3 separate regions of the Homo sapiens genome follow, and regions 1 and 2 are each linked to region 3. The links are contacts of gene promoters, found by promoter capture Hi-C in blood cells and fetal thymus (Javierre and others, 2016). All regions are on one chromosome and are shown on one strand. The core of a region is centred on a gene start or on the middle of the fragment in contact, and the rest is flanking DNA. Distances in the headings are between cores, read along the strand shown. Region 1 overlaps CASR (calcium sensing receptor). Region 2 overlaps CD86 (CD86 molecule). Region 3 holds the start of POLQ (DNA polymerase theta).

Region 1 (4,706 bases), core at 756-3,255, 690 kb after region 3:
CCTGGTGCCTCCTGAGTCAGATGATAACCAAGGGAAAGAAGTGACCTCTATCTCTGGACACAAAACAAACTAGAGGACCCTTACTCCTCTGATTGAGAAAGCTGGTGAAGTCAGCTCCTTTCAACTTGGAGAAGCCATTGCTCACATCAGGCGCATAACTGTTTCCAAAGTCATGGAAATGTCCAGTTCATGGCAAAAGTAGGGTTTTCTTTGTGCTTAGTTTCATGAAGAGGTCAATCAACTTTTTCAGTAAAAGGCCAAATATTAACTATTCCAAGCTTTGTGGGCCAATCTTTGGCATAACTACTCAAATCTACCCTTGCAGCACAAAAGCAACCATAGATATAATGCAAGTGATTAGGCATGACTGTATTTCAGCAAAACTTTATTTATAAAAACAAGCACACCAGATTTGGCCCATGGAATGTAGTTGGCTGGCCCCTGGTGTAATGTAACCAACACGTGGGCACAGCTGAATAAGAAGAGGAATAATAACCTTTGCCCATTACTTTCTAAAGAGCTTACTTCTCATTAGACAGATTGAGAGGTTTAAAATCAGTTTGGAAACTGCTGGAGGATGGAGGAAAAAGAGGGAGAGAAGAAAGAAGAAAGCAAACATGAGAGGATGGAATTTTATTTATTTCAAATGGAATTTAGTTATTTCAAATAAGTAATGGAAGAATCAGAGTGGAAAGAGTTATTTGTAAGGCCTCTGTATAGCAGGCTGACCCTAGTCATCTCTTACCCTGACCAGCTGGACAGGAGTCACTCACTGAGGCTCAGGCTATGTGGACTAATCCAACTTCAAAGTCAGGTTTATAGAAACATGTGTGGGCTTCTTTGGGGAAAGTTTATCTGAGACAGTGTTCCTCCGGACCAGCTTCGGGTGTCATTAGCAACAGAGAATCTTCTCATAGAGACAACTGAATGTAGTATGTTCCAGGATTTATTTTTTAAATGCTGGTTCCTGATTCTTCTGGGCAAAGCCGAAGAAGGCAGAGAGACACTGAGAGTGCACTGCATCAGCACAGATTGTGGAATGTTTAGGACCATTTCAGTTCCCAAAGAAAGAGCCCCTGAAGAGCTCATAGAAAGGGCTCGCAGGAGAGTAGAGAAGGACCAGGGAGTGCTGGACACTTCTAACAGTCACAGGTGCTGTGACTTCTAACAGTTGCAGGTAAACAGGGTCCCAGACCTTCCCATCTGGGACTGATGGATTGATTGTGAAGAATATATACTCATTCCACAAATTTAAAAAGGGAATTAATAATGAAAGACTTAAGTGTAAAGTAGAGCACCCAAGACTCTGCTCGGAAAGGTAGACGCAAATGATAACCACATAGGTAAATCCCCTGCATGTGGCTGGGAAGAGAGGGTGAGAAGTAGTCTATCTATGGTTAGTGGCCATTTTCTCTAGTTCACAGACCATGCATATTGATTATAGATTCAGAAAGTTACCCTAACTTTACAGCAATGACTTCTGAACTGTGCTTTCCTGGAATACTGGTTTCATAAGATGTTAGCAGTTATTTTGCAGGAGAAAGGTTTCAGGGAAACCGAAGAATGAATTGACATTGACAGGAAACTGTTGTGTATCCATTCAAAATACATTTTTGTTTGGCTGTGTTATCCTTGGAGAAAAGTAATAGTATCAGAAGAATCCTGGGCAATACAGCAAGGTCCTGTCTCTACAAAATTTTTTAAAAAATAGCCTGGGGTAGTGGCATGTTCCTATAGTTTTAGTTACTCAGGAATCTGAGGCAGGAGGATCACGAGCCCAGGAGTTCTAGACTGCGGTGAGCTATGATCATGGCACTGCACTCCAACCTGGGCAACATAGTGAGACCATGTCTCTAAAAATGATAATACATAAATAAAATTACATTTAAACAATCATTTTTAGGAAACACAATTTTTAGAGCTCAGAACAGAATATGACCCTGGACAGATGCATATGAAAGACGGTCTAGCAATGGCTTTCAAACTTCTTAAAACACAGGTTGCTGGTCCCACACCCAGAGTTTCTGATTCAGTAGGTTGGGATGGGATTCGTGTTTCTAACAAGTTCCCAAGTGATGGTGCTGATGCTCGTCCAAGGACCACAATTTAAGACTCACTTCCCTGCACCCGGCCCCATGCCCAACAGATAGGAGGCTCTTTTTACAGTAACAAGAAGTTTCTTTCTGAGGGTTACCACATTAAAAGAAATCAATTGAATGGGTTTCCACCATGTGTGAGGATATATTGGCTGACCCAGCATCAAAGTCAGGGTTAGAAACATCCATGGGCTTATTTGGGGAAAGTTTATTCCAGACAGTCTTCCTCCAGAACAGCTTCAGGTGTCCTTAGCAATGGAGAATCTTCTCATAGAGGCAACTGAATGTAGCATGTTCCAAAATTCATTCTTTAAATGCTGGTTCATGATTCTTCCGGGCAAAGCTGAAGGGGCCAGCTAATAAATCAACACATATTTCCTGACATTTCCTGACAGGGAGACATGTTCCTTCAAAAATGGGAACAAAATTCATAATGAATTTAGTGGGGAGGCATAGTTCTTCAAAAATAAAATTCAGTTTGAACATTTTCAATCTGAGATATTTGGGGATTAAAAAAACAGATATAGGTTCTGAAGGGACTACTCAAGCAAATGTATATTAGGAAATCAAGGAGGCCCTAGAAGGCCAGAATATGGACATGAGTCAGCCAAATTGTGGAGTTATGGACAAAAGCTAACAAACACATCTTGAAATCTCCAGTGGGACGCAAATTCTTTTAACCTCAGGTCAGCCCCAAATCATGGTACCAATTTCTGTTAACATGCTCTAAAAAATGACATGAAGAACTTAGAATAGGTTCTTGGCATATTAACAAATATATCTAGAAAAATATGAAGTAGTCCTAAGCAGAAAGGTTTGAAAGAAATTTGGATAGTTAAGCCTGAAAAAAAAGTGAAGGTGATTCTATCTTTAAATTAATGAAAATTTTTGTCTCTGGCCTTTCATTGCAGTGGTAAATTAGGCAAGAATAAATGGCCTTAATTTTAAAATAGATGTGATTTTAGTTAACTGTGAGGTAAAATCTTCTTTAAAATGGGGTAATGAAACACTGGAGGCTTGTTATTTTGGGCCTGGAAATTTGTAGAGATGCTAATTGTAGCTAACAGTACTTATGCTTTTTTTTTTTTTTTTTTGACAGAGTCTTGCTCTGTCACCAAGCTGGAGTGCAGTGGTGTGATCTTGGCTCACTGCAACCTCCACCACCCGGGTTCAAGCGATTCTTCTGCCTCAGCCTCCCAAGTAGCTGGGATTACAGGAGTGCACCACCACGCCCGACTAATTTTTGTATTTTTAGTAGACATGGAGTTTCATCATGTTGGCCAGGATAGTCTCAATCTCCTGACCTCATGATCCACCCACCTCAGCCTCCCACCTTGGGATTATAGGCATGAGCCACCACACCTGGCCGAAGTGTCTTTAAAATTCCACAGAGCTCTTCCTTGGTTCCTGCACAATCTCAAAGCCAATTGAAAGAATTGCCATACTATTGAAAAAGTCCAAATGCCCACCAATGGGAAAATGAATGAATAAATTGTGACATATTCACGCAGTGGAATATTATACCGCAGTTAAAATCATGGATTATAGTAAAGTACAACAATATAGATGAATTTTATTAATACGATATTAAGTGAAAGAAACTCAGAAGATTACATATAGTATGATACCCTTTTATGAAGCTTAAAACAACTAAAATTTTAAATACATTTTGGGAACATAGGTAGATACAATATAATCATATAAAAGGAAGACAAGCAATGACCACAATGAAAAAGACTGGCAGTACCAAGGGTGGACAAGGACATGGAGTGATAGAACTCTCATAGAGTGCAGTGGGAAGATAAATTGGTACAACACTTTGGAAAACTTTTTGGTAGTATCTACTAAAACTAAAGATACACAAATTCTATGATGTAGCAACTCCACTTCTAGGTATATATTCAACATACATTCACAAAAAGGCATGTTTAAGAAAGCTTATAGCTGAGGGTGGAGCAAGATATCTGAACAGAAGCCTCCACTGATGGCTCCCCCCTGCAGGAACACCACATTTTAACAACTAACTACACAAAAAAGCACCATCAAAAGAAGTAAAAATCAGGTGAACAGTCACAGCACCCGGTGCTAATTTCATATTGCTCAAAGAGGCACTGAGGAGGGTAGGAAAGACAGCCTTGAATCGCTGATACCACCCCTCCCCTATCCCCCCAGCAGTGGCCGTGTGGTGCAAGAGAAAATCTGTGCATTTTGGGGAAGGAGAGCACAGCGACTGGGCCACTTGGCACTGAACTCAGTGCTGACCTGTCACAGCAGAGAGAAAAGCTGTGCTGGGCTCAGCTGGCATTCGCTGAGGAGGAGGGAGCATTTGGACCAGCCCTAGCAAGAGGGGAATCACCCACCTAAGCAGTCGGAACTTGAGTTTCTGCAAGCCTCACCACCACGTGTTAAAGTGCTCTGGGGTCTTACATAAGCTTGAAAAGCAGTCTAGGACAAAAGGACTGTAATTCCTAACTAAGCAATTCCTAGTGCTGGGCTAGGCTTAACACTAGAGCCAGTGGACTAGAGCAGCAGGTGACCTAGGGAGACACCAGCCAGGGTGGCTAAGGGAGTGCTTGTTCTACCCATCTCCCAACCCCAGGTAACACAGCT
Region 2 (4,636 bases), core at 2,005-4,504, 560 kb after region 3:
TGAAAAGTTTCAGGGTTATGTCATAAGAAGGTGGGGGGCAGCTGCTGAAATAGTCTGCGGGTGTAGACCTGTGGAGTTGACAAGATCAAAGAAATTTGAGGCAAGGTTGTTAGACTCATTCATGAAGAAGTCACCCAAATTGTTAGCAAGACCTTGCATCTAATGCCAAAATCCTCATTTAGCAAGGTGGTAGTGACTTAGTAGCTACAAGCAATGAGAAAGTCAGACACCTCAAAAGGGGAAGGTGTTGCTCAAAGTCCCCACAAAGTGTGATAAAACAAACAGTAGCTGGGGCTGGAGCAAGTGGCTTCCTTTGGGTGAAGCCAGATTTCACTGAAATAATAACCTCAGGGAAACAGTCAATGAAGGGGTTAAAGATGTGGGAGAGTTTCCTTGTAGTAAGTAATGGAATGAGGCTTTCAAAGGGCCAAGTAAAACTTTGGAGGAAGTTTAGTAAAAGAAGGAATTTTTTTTAGTACAGATAAGCATAGGAACATAAAGAAGAGATAATTCTTAAACATATAAGATATGCATTTGGGGATAGCAGCCAGGGAACACTGAAGTCCCAGTGGGGTCAGAGACTTCATAAGGCTAGCAAATTACAGTTTTTGAGTGGCATTCCAACAGTAGAGTGTATTGCTCAGGAAGTCCTTAATTATCCTTTGAAACAAATTCCTTCAGCTGATTACGAAGGCATCTAGCTGGATTCTTGAGCGACTTGTTCCTGACATCATAGCAACCCATTGTAACTAGACTTCGACCATTCCTCTTACCCAAGTGCTGGGGAAGGGAGAGATTCTCAATGCTTACCCACCTATGGAATCCCAGTAAGTCCAGTTGCTAGGTGGCTTGAGGTCTGGGGTCATAAAATGGAAGGCCTGAAGTCATTTGGTGATCACAGACCTTGAGCCAAACTTTCCCCATTTAGTCAGAGAAAGGATTAGCAGCATCCCCCATGCCTGGCTCTGTGTGAGATCATGGAAGCCAGTGGTTGGTGAGGTGCTATGGAGTATAAATTGCAAAATACTTTCAGTTCCACTCAGAATGGATTTCAAAGTGATTTCCACCCCATGGGGAGGAGAGGGAGTCTGAGGAGGGATGGATGGAAAAAAAATTTTCATGTCATTTTCTGTGATCCACTCTGGAGACAGAGGCAGAGATTCTCTACAACAGCTGCTCAAACTATAGCTCTTGTTAAAATGGAGGTTCTGAATCAGTAAGTCTTGGGTGGGGCCAGAGATTCCGTGTTTCAGACCAGCCCACATGTGACGTGAATCTCATTGGTCCATACATCACACTTTCAGTTGCTAGGTGAAGAAGGGAGCACTCGATGAGTGGAAGAGAAAGCCGTTGTAATCTTTGGGAGAAGGGGCCTGGGTCAGCGGAGTTAGACTGGTCTGTGAGTGGACAGAATGGATGGGAAGGAAAGAAGATACTGTGAGGCTCTACAGAAAAAAAAAAAAAAAAAAATATATATATATATATATATATATATATGTAAATCAAGAAGACAGAAGCAGCTAAAGACGAAGTCATTTCCAGGTCCAGAAGGCACAACTGACAGCTGAGTAATAACATAACATTGACTGTTAATTGGCAGAATTTTTAACTGTGTGTTTGGTTTCTCCATCAGGTCATCTGTCCTATATTACATGACAATTTAGACTAAAACCAGTATTTCCTCAGAGACAATGCTAGAAGCTTTTACAGTAGGGGGCACTCTTGCATTACATTAAGAGCTCAGCAAAGAAGATGCAGAAGCCTCAGGTTTGCCTTGTAAGGTGATTCATAAACACACTAAATCTTCCTTAGGTCTCCCTTTCACTGTCAGGGTACGCATATAGATTTTCCTTCCTCCCTCCAATACCGGTACGCATCCTCTACAGGTGGTGCATTTTATACCTCAAGTACTTCACAGGGTCCTAGTGAGTGTAGTGAAATAGGCAGTGATTCATATTTGTGCAAACTCCCACTGATGCCTGCTGTCTGCTTCCCTAAGAGTTCAAGACCACCACCAACCCCTTGATTATGTGTTCTCACTGGGCCACTCTGTACACAGTTTAGTTTGACAAGTGCATGTCACTGTTATCTGTCCTTCTATTCCCTCTTTCAAGAGAAACCACATCAATTTAATTACTCCCCCACTTAGAACTCTTCAAATGAAGCTCCTCTCATCTCTCTCATCAACCCATCTCCTCCCTTTCCTCCTCAATGTCAACATGCCTTCACATAAATCCTGAATGATGAAATTTTATTTAGAACTTACACTAACTTCCTCTCCAAGGTGGCATCTAACTTCATATTAAGTAAGAAACAGCCTTCCCACTCTCCACCCCCGCACTTCTCACCCACCACTGCTTACTTTTTTTTTTTTTTTTTTTTTTTTTTTGCCAAGTCTCAAGTAATTCTGTAACCTAGAAAAGGTCCTACACAAACCCCGTGATCATTCACATTTAAGTAGTTGGGTGGCCCACATCCTTCCCACAAACCCCAAAGTGTCCTCAAGGACTAAAGCCTTTCTCTCAACCCTTCCAGCATGATGTCTATGGTTGTAAAATTGTCCAGGGTCAGTGCATACTGGGAGCAGCAAGTTTGTGGTGCCTGGGGTTTCCCCAATACTCCCAAAGCACATCCTCACCTGCCCATCTATGATTCATTTTCAGCATTTCACTCATGTGCCTTAAATGGTCATTGACCACCACAATCCGAAAACAGCCATCAAATTTGCCCAGTTCTCTTTCTGATCTCTGAAAGAGCTTAGAGAGGTCACTGAAAATAAAGGCCTTGGTTCACTATCGAAGTCATTTCTAAAGCATTTGACATCCTTGGAAGTGCTGGCCATGGGAGCAGCAGTCATAGGGGAAGTTCTGTAAAGGGAGCTATTTGAATTTCAAAGATGTTACTCAACGTGATTCCCCAACTAATGAAGTATAATAAAGGGGGGCTATAATTTATTACCATTATCAGCAATCTTTTCACCATAGCAGACCAAGGAATATGTGGATGGGAGGGGAGGGGAAAGCTTTTGGTGATGGTGTAGAAGTTATGGAACCTGTAACAGCTACAGTGATGAAAACTAAAATTAAGGTTATAGGAAGGTAACTGGTGGGTGAATGGGTTGTCTAACTCTACTGGTTTTTCCCTGTCTTGCAATTTAAATTCACAGAACCACAGTACTAGAAAGACCCTTGGAACATTTAGTCAACCACTTCATTAATCAGATGAGGAAACTGAGGCTCATAAAGATTGCAGTTTGTACAAGGCCACACATTTAGTCAGCGGTGAAGCAAGGACAAAGGTCCTAATCTCCAGATGCCAAGCAGATGTGCACAGTTCCAGAGCTTAATATCTTATTCTTCAGCATGATTACTGATAAGATAGTATCTGGGTATTGTATAAAGAGAAATGGAGGTTTTTTCCCCTTTCCTCTTGTTTCTCCCTCCCTAATCCTTAACCTTCTTTTTTAGGTGCTGCTCCTCTGAAGATTCAAGCTTATTTCAATGAGACTGCAGACCTGCCATGCCAATTTGCAAACTCTCAAAACCAAAGCCTGAGTGAGCTAGTAGTATTTTGGCAGGACCAGGAAAACTTGGTTCTGAATGAGGTATACTTAGGCAAAGAGAAATTTGACAGTGTTCATTCCAAGTATATGGGCCGCACAAGTTTTGATTCGGACAGTTGGACCCTGAGACTTCACAATCTTCAGATCAAGGACAAGGGCTTGTATCAATGTATCATCCATCACAAAAAGCCCACAGGAATGATTCGCATCCACCAGATGAATTCTGAACTGTCAGTGCTTGGTATGTGGTCAATGGTGTGTGTTCAGATTCTTAGCCTTCTCAGATGAGACTGCAAATGAGTTAGAAAAACACTGGAGGGGGACTTGAGGGGCCCAGGGGAAAAGGGGGGTCTATAGAGAGAAGGCAGAGGACAGCCACTTCTGGGAAGTGCATTTGAAGGGAGTGTAGAGTCTGGGAGTAGGGAACTGAAAGTCTTTTGTACTTTTTATAGTCTGCTTCTGAAGGATCAGTAAAAATCTGCTTTGGGGAAAAAATAGAGCTAATTGAACAAAGATAATATGGCTAATTACCTATAGTAAAAACCATGGATAATTTGGCCATCACAAAGTTTATATAACCATAAAGGCCTCAGATGTCTTACATTCATTTTTTCCTTGGGTCCAAGATTTTTCACCTACTAAATCTTTGCCTGGAGCTCCTAGCAAAGCGGACAGCTGACACATTTGGGTTTTCCCTTCAGCCTCCTCTAGGTTGCTTATGAGTTGTTTGCTGCCACAACCATGAGCCTGGTAGACAGAAGGGAAAAAAACCCAACAAACATAACCCACAAACTTACAAACCAGCTCCTCTGCTTCACGAGACCTTGGAAGGCCTAAATGCCACTACAGATTTTTTTAAAACTATCACACAGTAAAATTATTTTTTTTTGTTTTGATATACTGTTCTACTGATTGTATAGATCTTGTATAGATTTAGGTAACCGCCACAGGACATAGAGCATTTCTATCACCCTAAAAATTTCCCTCAGGCTGTCCCTTCATAGAGTCATACCCTGTCTGCACTCATAACCCTTGTTGGGCATCCTATAGTTTTGTCTTTTTGACAGTGTCACA
Region 3 (4,097 bases), core at 617-3,116:
AGGTAGGCAGATCACTTGTCAGAAGCTCAAGACCAGTCTGGCCAACACAGTGAAATCCCATCTCTACTAAAAATACAAAAAAGTAGCTGGGCCTGGTGGCGCACACCTGTAATTCCAGCTACTTGGGAGGCTGAGGCAGGAGAATCACTTGAACCTGGGAGGTGGAAGTTGCAGTAAGCCCACATAGCGCCACTGCACTCCAGCCTGGAGACAAACTCTATCTCAAGAAAAAAAAAAGGTAAATTAACAAACATGTAATGATAATGCTCATACCCTGAAAAGCAACCAGGATCAAACAGGGGAAGGGCAGATTTACATCTCCCATTGCACACTCACTGGGATATATGTTTGTTGAGAATAATGGCAGGCAGAATTGCCCACTCTTTAAATTGTCATTTTTCTTGCTTCCCTCCACCCCAGTCAAACAATAAAACTTTTGTAATTTAAATATAAATAAAACTCCACTTTTCACACATATTGTACGATTTTCTCTAGTTATAAAGCACTGCCTCATTCACCTTTTAAACGAACCACAACTACCTCAATAGAGTATTCTTTACATTCATATCTTAAAAATAGTAATTAGTTTACATAAATTTGGATACCTGAATAAACTAAATTCTTTCCTTCCAGGACTTGTCCAAGCAAAAGGCACTCTGCCTGCCATTCAAACATCTTTTTTACACCAAAACTGTGGTATTTTTCCAGAACTGCTTTAGGAAGTCCCCAGTTTGCCAATAGTAGCTTGTCTCTTTCGTAGTCAGGAACTGTAGGCTTGCATTCTCCTTTTAGGAAAAAGAAAAAATTAAAATTTAATTTACTTCTAATATATGAGTTTTACAGTTAGCCCTTCACCGTGTGTTGGAATTCCTATGTGTTGAAATGAAGCTCTTTAAAGCACATCCTGACTTCAAGAATCTTATGAGAAATTGACCATGTATAGAAAAGTAATAAATTGTTATTTACTGCATATAATAAAAATTCCTTAAAAGCCTCAAACGAACAAAAAAGCGTGCAATACACAGTAGATAAAGAGTGTTGGAATTACGGGTGTAGTTGGGGGAGGAGGGCAATATGCAAGCATTACAAAGCTAAGTTAGGTGAGTTTCTATTTATAGTAAGTTTTAGTTCCATGACGACTGCACAACTAACGATTTTAAAAAACTGGGTCGACATCCACGGGACACCCAACCAATCTCATTACGAATCCCTTCCAGCCTTCCCCTGGACGCCGAACAGCCTGTGCCGTACTCCAGGCCCAACAATCCTGTCTTAAGGGTCTGTAAGGAGTACTGGGTACTACCAGGAACGAGCCGCCCAACAGATGATGGGATGAAGCTAACTAGGAAGTTGTTTCTCTAAAGGTCGAAAGATCCAGAAGCCACGTGAACATTAATACCAGGCGATCACTGAAAACACGCGTATGTCTGAACAGAAAGTGACCTGCCACACCAGGCCCCAGTCACAGAGAAGGGGAGTAGAAGCCCAATGGGGTATGCAACGAAGCAAGTCCCGTGGGGTGAGGACACCTCCCGACCCATGGCCCGGCGGAGCTGCCCCCGTTGCCCGCGGCCTCCCGGGTTCCTGGAGCACCTGCAGCTGCGGCCTTCAGGCAGCGACCAAGGCCGGGCGGCGGGCTCAGCACGGACCCGGAGAGGAACTGGGGGCTGGCACTGCTGTCACCGCCGCTTCCCGAGAACGAATCTGAGCCTGATTCTGAACGCCGCCGTTTCCCACTCCGACGCAGAAGATTCATGGCAAACTCTTCTCGGCCGATCAGGGCAAGCCACAGTCCCAGCGTCCTCCCTCTCGGGAGAACCCTGGCCTGGCAACAGCTGCGGACATCTTCCCGCCAGTCTTCAAACTCAAACCTCCCGGCCCGCCCCGGAACCATAGAGTTCTCCGTGGCTTAAGTAACCCGAAAGCCATAGACTCGTGGGGAAGGAGCGGCTCTCGCTGGCGTCTAAGACTTCCGGCCTCCAACCTCCTGGTTGGTTAATATGAGAGATAGATTAAAGAGGAAGAATACAGAATCTACAGTTATAACCATACTGACCTAAAAGCCTTCCTTCTCCTTTTGTCCATTTCTGGTTTGAATAGGAAGGCCATGCTAACTTCATAAAATGGGCTGCCCATAATAGGTAGATCAGGGAAGTAGCTCTTCTTAACGTATTGGTATTCTGTAAAAAATTATTTCAGATTGAGAAGCATTATGCAAGATAGCCTAGGGTTTCTAATAGAGCATAATTTCCTCCTTTCTCCTAGTATATGATGGTAGGGCAGGGCTATTTCTGAACACAATTTCCATTTTAGCCAGCATGCATTGTGAGGAATATGTAATGAGGAATTGGGGATTGCTGGCTGACAGACCCCTGAGACACTATATGAACGCCGCGAGGAAGGGGCTCTGAATATACCCCAGGGATCGTTATGAGCCAAGAGCTTAGTAATGCATCTGTGTTGTCCCTTTTGTAAAGGTAGAAGCGAACGAGTTCTGAACGTAAAACGGTGACCATTCATTACCTAGTTGCATAATTCATTTCACCAAGCAAAACTAGTAGGCCCTAAGCCTGACCTGAAGAGGCTGTGCAGTTCTAGAGCACTAAAAATCTCAAAAGGTCCAGTCCAATTAAAAAAAAAAAAAACACTCGAATACAATCTGGAAAATAGCATTCGAACCATCAATTCCTTCCGTGAAAACATTTTTTTGATTTAAATGACAATATTCTAAAGTTCCACGAGATGGCGACATTACTCCGTGAATGAAACATTTTTCTCTTGGCCTTTTACGCAATCAACAACTATTTACTGAGTATCTACTGTAAGCTAGCCACTGGGTAAATGGCAGTGAAATGGCATAAAATGGTTCCTGCTCTCAAAGAGAAAGAGTCTAGAGAATAAGGCAGACATTAAACAAGTCAGTTAATGAAGTGTGCCATATGCTTGGGCAGAAATGAAGAGTACTATTAAAGAAATAAAAGAGATCTCGCCGGCCGTGGTGGCTCACGCCTGTAATCCCAGCACTTTGGGAGGCCGAGATGAGTGCATCACCTGAGGTCAGGAGCTCTAGACCAGCCTGGCCAACATGGTGAAACCCCGTCTCTACAAAAATACAAAAAATTAGCCGGGTATGATGGCGGGTGCCTGTAATCCCAGCTACTCTGGAGGCTGAGGCGGGAGAATTGCTTGAACCTGGGAGGCGGTGGTTGTAGTGAGCCGAGATCGCACCACTGCACTCCAACCTGTGCGACAAAGAAAGACTCCGTCTCAAAAAAAGAAAAAAAAAAAAAAGAGAGAGAGACCCCTAGATTGCAGCCAAGAAAGAACTTTCTCAGATGCAGTGTAACTTAAGGGTTAACAGTGCAACTCTGGAGTCAGTCAGTCTAGGTTTGAAACTTAGTAGCTGTGAGATCTTGGGCAACTTGCTTAACCCATTTTTTGTTTGTTTGTTTGTTTTGAGACGGAGTGTCCCACTCTGTCGCCCAGGCTGGAGTGCAGTGGCTTGATCTCTGCTGACTGCAACCTCTGCCTCCCAGGTTCAAGCGTTTCTCCTGCCTCAGCCTCCCAAGTAGCTGGGATTACAGGCCTGCACCACCACACCTGGCTAATTTTTGTATTTTTAGTACAGACAGGGTTTCACCATGTTGGTCAAGCTGGTCTCGAACTCCTGACCTCAAATGACCCGTCCACCTCCGCCTCCCAAAGTGCTGGGATTACAGCGTAACCCTTTTGTGCCTCCATGTCCTCATCTGTATGATAGAGATAATAATTGTAACAACCTATTTGGTTATTTTGAGGACTGAGTAAGTCAATATGTGTAAAGTACTTAGAATAGTGCCGGCACATAATAAATACTATTCAGAGAAAATATTTAGATGTTCTAATATAGCCCCCAATTTAAATTCAGCATTTTGCTGGGAAAAGGCTAAACTAGAAAAATCTCTTACAAAGCTATTCTGTTTTTATTATTAGGTGAACTATGATCAAATCAGAAAAATAATTAGAAAGGAATTGAAAGTTTTATGTCATCCTACCAAAAGCCTAGAGAATATTTTAAAATATATAATTTATTTTAAATGTTCAACATTTCTAATTTT

Evidence for each region. Contacts are between HindIII fragments. The CHiCAGO score rates a contact against its expected background, and 5 or more counts as called.
Region 1: a fragment that was not itself captured here is called in contact with the fragment with the promoter of POLQ in region 3 in 2 of 17 cell types (total B cells and neutrophils); the score reaches 5.8 in total B cells.
Region 2: a fragment that was not itself captured here is called in contact with the fragment with the promoter of POLQ in region 3 in 1 of 17 cell types (naive CD8 T cells); the score reaches 5.0 in naive CD8 T cells.

What each region holds. Positions count from the first base shown.
Region 1 is chr3:122,233,941-122,238,646 of GRCh38, forward strand. The region is part of intron 1 of CASR (calcium sensing receptor); the gene reads left to right. Among named protein-coding and RNA genes, the nearest start is that of CASR, 53 kb to the left of the region's middle. The HindIII fragment of the contact is 3,458 bases long and covers 277-3,734 here.
Region 2 is chr3:122,100,045-122,104,680 of GRCh38, forward strand. CD86 (CD86 molecule) reads left to right here. Exons shown (of 7, transcript NM_175862.5): 3 at 3,468-3,803. Among named protein-coding and RNA genes, the nearest start is that of CD86, 47 kb to the left of the region's middle. RefSeq lists an enhancer at 1,016-1,205 and a silencer at 4,248-4,317. The HindIII fragment of the contact is 469 bases long and covers 3,021-3,489 here.
Region 3 is chr3:121,544,122-121,548,218 of GRCh38, forward strand. It overlaps POLQ (DNA polymerase theta), which reads right to left and starts at 1,867. Exons shown (of 30, transcript NM_199420.4): 1 at 1,594-1,867; 2 at 606-785. The coding sequence starts at 1,756. RefSeq lists enhancers at 1,600-1,829, 1,721-2,015. The HindIII fragment of the contact is 11,524 bases long and covers 1-4,097 here.